Regions from separate parts of the Homo sapiens genome. Here region 2 is linked to region 1. The links are contacts of gene promoters, found by promoter capture Hi-C in blood cells and fetal thymus (Javierre and others, 2016). All regions are on one chromosome and are shown on one strand. The core of a region is centred on a gene start or on the middle of the fragment in contact, and the rest is flanking DNA. Distances in the headings are between cores, read along the strand shown. Region 1 holds the start of PTH (parathyroid hormone). Region 2 has its middle 7.4 kb from the start of LINC02683.

Evidence for each region. Contacts are between HindIII fragments. The CHiCAGO score rates a contact against its expected background, and 5 or more counts as called.
Region 2: a contact is called between a fragment that was not itself captured here and the fragment with the promoter of PTH in region 1, in 1 of 17 cell types (neutrophils). The highest score is 5.8, in neutrophils.

Annotation. Positions count from the first base shown.
Region 1 is chr11:13,494,508-13,497,449 of GRCh38, reverse strand. PTH (parathyroid hormone) reads left to right here and starts at 1,453. Exons shown (of 3, transcript NM_000315.4): 1 at 1,453-1,539. RefSeq lists an enhancer at 1,058-1,079 and promoters at 1,294-1,456, 449-1,508, 770-1,520. The HindIII fragment of the contact is 1,846 bases long and covers 898-2,743 here.
Region 2 is chr11:13,915,760-13,919,152 of GRCh38, reverse strand. No RefSeq gene overlaps it. Among named protein-coding and RNA genes, the nearest start is that of LINC02683, 7.4 kb to the left of the region's middle. The HindIII fragment of the contact is 2,475 bases long and covers 583-3,057 here.

The DNA of each region.
Region 1 (2,942 bases), core at 204-2,703:
CATTCAACTACTTCTCATGTTATAGTTTTCAACATTTTCACCAAACTGATTGATATCCTCAGTGTATGTTCCCATTTGTTTCTACTGCTTCTAAAATGGAGCCTGGAGCAACACTCTAAGTGAGGTTAACCCAGAGTGGAGAATCTCCTAGGACAGGACTAGTATATATCTCTCATTATAAACTCCATACGGTTACTATTCAAATTTGTACTGGCTCTTACCTAAGGTAGAGTCAAACCTTGACAATGGCTAGTAGGAAAAAGGATGACATGAAGCCAGGATGGGACCAGAGCTGAGAGAACTGATCCCACTCTGGCACCGGATCTTTGGTGGGAAGGCAAAGCTGTCTAAAGGAGTCCTAGATATATCAAAGACATTCAGGGTGTTTTGACAGGTGGACCAGGAAAATATTGCTGGAGGAATATTTGAAGTCAGACATGTGGCAGCATCATGCCTCCAATAGGTTTTGGAGCAGGCTCTCATCATCCCTTAGGGAACATGAGAATAAAGACCTAACCCCTAGGGGAAAATGTTGCAAAGAGCTTTTGCTGTGTTTTCAGATGACTTTGCAAATTAAAGTCAAGAAGACTGGAGTTCAAAGAAGGGCTGTATTTCTAGGCAGAAACTGAGGTAGTAAGAATCTGGTGTCATAAAGACCTTTGTTGAATTCCATCTTTTCTGCTTTCCAAGCCTAAGTTTCCTCATGTAAAAATGGGGATAAGCACTTAACTTTAGTACTTTAAGTACTAACTTTAAAGGACTGCTGTGAAGATCTAGTGGGATAATATATGTAGTTAGGCATGCAGTTAGTGCTTATCAAATGTTATTATTATAGATTAAGATGCACAAATAAAATATAAGTTAAATAAATTTTAAAATAATTTCACTTTTGAAGCTTTTAAAGTAATTATGTACTAAGAGCATTTTCTCAAATTATTCTTAACACTTCCTTTAAGAAAAGGGCTATATCTGTTTTTTGAAAGATGACCAGAAGTGACATGGATTGGTTGAAAATGGCTTGTAAAGTAAGCCTAACATTTATGATTTATTACCATAAAAACTGTACCAACAGTACGGTTATAACAAATACACTTATTTTTGGGTTTTATTTTCAAGTAAGATAATGACTTTATCATAAACCTTTGAAATCAGTCTTTTTACAGTATAAATTCAGATTCATTAATCCACATAGAATTTTTCTCGATGGTATAATTCTGTATTTGTTAAAAGTCTTTGCATAAGCCCCTTGTCAAGCCAAATGCTGTTTTCCTTTTAGTATCCAATTATCTGAAACTTAAGAAGAGTGTGCACCGCCCAATGGGTGTGTGTATGTGCTGCTTTGAACCTATAGTTGAGATCCAGAGAATTGGGAGTGACATCATCTGTAACAATAAAAGAGCCTCTCTTGGTAAGCAGAAGACCTATATATAAAAGTCACCATTTAAGGGGTCTGCAGTCCAATTCATCAGTTGTCTTTAGTTTACTCAGCATCAGCTACTAACATACCTGAACGAAGATCTTGTTCTAAGACATTGTATGGTAAGTAAACTTAAAAATTCACTTCTGAATCTCATGAGATTTTGATAATCAAGTTATTATTTAATGTGTACCATTTCTACAAATACCATGTTGTTTCTTCAAGGTAAAATGCTAAGAAGTTTGAGTTATGTTTAATATAAAATGCCACATACAAAATAAATTAATGCTACTCAAATCACAAAATCCTTTTTGATTAAAGTCTTCTGAGATACCTTGCCTTTTAAAACCTCATCTGAAATTACAACAAAAAATCATTAAAATTTGGCATGCTATGCTTTAATATAATAGTATCGGTGTCAAAATTTTGAAATAAAACAGGTTGATGGTGAATGAATAGTTCTGATTTAAATAATCTTTATAAATTTATTAAGTGGAGTTAATATTCTGTTTTTCCTGCAGAGTATTCTTATCTAGATTATTTATTTTATGGCTCATAAAGAGCCCAATCTGTATACTAAAGTTGGATAAGCCCAGTTTGACTAGTAAATATTTATTTCCTTTACATAAATGACAGCTGTATTCTGAAAACAGTATTTCCTATGCTATTTCTAAATGATGCAGTTTCCCTGTAAAATAGGAGTACATAACTACTCTATGTGTATGTTAAAAGGTAGTACACTGAGCATTAAGGAAAAGCACTTCTATAATAACAGCCTTTGCAAGTACTGAAATGCAGATTAAGGCAAGAATATCCTATACTGATGTGAAACGAGGAAAGAGACAAAAGTTATATTAAAAGATAATTGTTAATAAAATAAGTTGAAGAAATAAGCTACAAACAAGCATTCCATTCAGAGATAAAGCTCGAAATCCATATCACAAGTAATTAATCAGATGATTTTTAAATGCTTTGACACATTATTTTTAATGCTAGGAGAAATGTGAATTAATTTAGTGAAAATCTCTAGATTAGCACCTATTAGTTTGGTATTTATGGTTATTACAATGCCTGAAATGAAGGTTACTTAAGAAAAGGATTTGCTACGTAAATAGTGTTAACAATTTACACTATGAAGAAAATTAGGCATTTTCAAGCAAGTTATAAACATTTAGGTATAATCAACATAAAATGCAGTGCGGGGGGATTTCTCAAAAATAGGCTCTTTCATTCCTCTTGTAGCTTAAGATTTCTGCAGTGTGACAGAAGGGAGCATGAGAAGCATGGCTCACCAGCCAGCCTCTATTGTCTATGTAATTAGAAGCTTCAGAACTCACTAATACCACTGTACCTTTCACTGGCGCATTACCCCATAAAACTTGAGATGAGGTGAGATCTGAGTATAAAGATAGGTCAGAAGTATTTTAAAGGGCTTAATTTGCCAAAAAGAAAAGTAAAAAGCTAGAGACCCTTTTTGCAGAACATTTGGTGACCACACATTTGAGGGAAGATGTGGCATTAGATG
Region 2 (3,393 bases), core at 571-3,070, 420 kb before region 1:
GGTCTAGGGTAGGCTTGTAATCAGTGCTTGTTGAATGAATGTGATCCCTGAAGCTTTCACACTCACGGTTGGTCTTAACTGGTATTTTGCAAGAATTATATTCCACCCCCTAGTTGAGGCATGCTCATGTTTAGACACAGAAGAAGAAAATATGGAATATTGTTGCTGTGGAAACTAACTTGGAAAATGACTTTCTTTTCTCCTTTATATAAATGTACAAGTCATATCTCATGGCTAAGTGGTCTATGAGTACTTACATAATGACACTGAAAGCCTCAAGCCTGCTCCCAAGGCGTTCTGTGGCAGTCAGCAATGCAGACCATGGAACACGTTCCCTGTGCCATTCTAGCATATAATCTTTCTCACTTTGATGCCCAGTTGCTGGGTTAAATATTGTTTTCAGTCTATCCTACAATAAAATTATTGCACTTCAGTGGATTTCTGTTTGGAGATTTTAAATATTTTAAAACCACACAATATAACAATTTTCAAAAGAAAAAACACTTATCTATTATTTTTAAAAGCTCCTTTCAAAAGCCTGTATTCTGTCCTAGTACTTGGGATCAGCCCACATGGAAAGCTTCTCTAAAGATTCTATAGGAATATTTTACATTTCTTCCTATGTATTCCTACAAGAAAGGTGCTAAAATAATAGCACAATACCTTGCATTTGTGATATTTTCTTCTGACCAATTATCTTACTAGAAGAAACCTGTGGGAATTTTATTACTTTTCTCACCTTTGTGGACCAAAGACTATTTTCATGTATGAAGACTTCCACGTCCTGTCTGATCTCTGGGGTCCTATAACTTGACTTTTACCATGTTGATAACTTTCTTGGCTTTCAATCTAAACTGCAGTGTCAGCCCAAATATCCTTACCCAAAGATTGCAAAAATGGGAGGGAGGGTTCTAATTTTAACCTGTGTAGGATACTTCATACTAGCATTTTTAAGGAGGCTTCATGACAGTATTCAAGATTTCTTCATGTGCTTTACACACAGCAGGGATGCCTCGTGTAATAAATGTATAACCCACATGTAAGCTGATTTGGCAAAGGGTCCCAGATGTTACACAAATAGGCCTCCTGAGGCCGGGAACTGGGAAATGCCTATGGTTGTTTCATCATTCAGCTGTGGAGAAAACAGTGTGAAAGGAAAATTAAAATCTCAGGACCCTCAAACTCACTATGCCAAAGGGAAAGGTCAAACTTGGGGACTGAGTCAATCCAAACTTCCCCCCATTTTGTTCTTAAATAGATAGTTACAAAGATAAAAGGCTACATACCTCCCTCACAATTTGCTCACAAGGCAATTCCTTGTGGGCCCCAAGATCTTTACCCTAAATCAGTTCTGTTGAATTTCACCTTGACAATGTAAATTAACAGCTTATCTTCACGGATATAGAACCAAGGACAGAACCAGAAGTCATCTCTCCATTCACCTGAGATGAATGCATGTTTGACTGCTTCCTCTACTCTATGTTTACTTCATCTTATGTAACAATGCAGATTCACAGAGCATGAGATGAATGCATAACTGACTCTTCCTCGATCCCCTCCTTTTACATGTAAAACATGGATTCAGTGAAGGCTGATCAAAGACTCAAAACAATGACACTGCTTCCCCCTTTTATCTAACCTTCTCCTTCTTTTTTCACTTCTCTTTCCCCTACTGCCCACTCTTTCCCCTTTAAAAGCTGAAGTTCCCAAACCCTCTTTGGAAAAAGCACAGATCACAGATGTTCCTGTGGTTTTGTGTTCCTTTTTCTTAGGTATGTCCTCAACCTTGGCAAAATAAACCTCTGAAATGATTGTGACTCACTTCAGTCATTCTCATTGATTTGCATCAGAAAAGATAAAATTTAACTCATGGGGTTGTTAAAAAGATGAATTAGACGTGCATATGGATAATGTAGGGTTCCTTGGGGTTTTGTCTTTTTGTCTTTGCATGCTCTACACTAGCCCTGGATGACCTCATCTGCACATGTTTGGGATATGCACACACAACACATACACACGCACACACACTCTTTGTTTTGTGTGGGTGTGTGTATTGTGTGTGTATCCCAAATATGCACAGTTCAGATTTTACCCAGGGGTTTAAGATGCACACACTCAACTGTATAGTTTGGATTTTCCAGTCACCTTGAGCACAATATATGCAAAACTAAACTCACCCTCGGCCTTACCAAATCAGCTTCTCTTCCTTCATCTCCATTTTGGTAAGTGGCACTGCCATCTAAGCCAGAAACCTGGAACCCTCAATTCCCTTCACACTCTTTGCCCACCCTTTATTTCCAATCACTCCCTAAGCCCTGCTGATTCTAAATCCAAATATAACTGGAACCCACTTGCTTATCTCCATCTTTTCCCACTGCCTTGGTAAAAGCCTCCAGTCTTTTTCACCTGAGCTACTGAAGCAGCTTCTGGTCAGGCCTCTTGCCTACAGCCTTGCTCTTCAATTTAGTCTTCATGACTGATTGAGTCCTCTCGCTAAAGCACACATCTTCTCTCCTTTAAACCCTTTTATGGCCTCCTATTCTCACCTGAACAAAGTCCAAGCTAATTATGATCCTCTTGATCCATTTTCCCCCCACATTCCACATTCACCCACACTGAGTATCTTTTAGTGTCTCAAACACGCCATTACTTTTCATCTTCAGGTCTTTGCCCTGGAGCTGATAGGGTCAAGACCAGGAGTTATTAAATTACAAATAGAGAAAACCCTAGGATTTCTCCTCTGTTTTTTATAGTGAGATGTTTTCATTCACCTCTCTCTTAAACTCCAGACACGTATTTTCAACTGTTATGCAGACATCTTCATTTGGATGTTTAATAGACATCTCAAAATTTACCACATCTCATACCTTAAGGTAATAAAAGCCATCTGTGACAAGCCAACCTTATACTGAAAGAGGAAAAGTTGAAAGCATTCCCCCTGAGAACTGGAACAAGACAAAAGGGCTACTGTTGGCTAATGATATGATCGTATACCTAGAAAACCCTAAAGACTCAACCTAAAACCTCCTAGAACTGGTAAATGAATTCAGCAAAGCTTTCAGGATACAAAATCAATGTACGCACATCAATAGCTCTGCTATACACCAACTGAGACCAAGCTGAGAATCAAATCACGAACTGAACCCCTTTCACAATACTTGCAAGAAAAATAAAATACTTAGGAATACACCTAACCAAAGATGTGAAAGACCTCTACAAGGAAAACTACAAAACACTGCTGAGAGAAATCATAGATGACACAAATGGAAACACATTCCTGCTCATGAATGGGTAGAATCAATATTGTGAAAATGACCACACTGCCAAAAACGATCTACAAATTCAATCCAATTCCCATCAAAATACCACCATCAGTTTTCACAGAACTAGAAA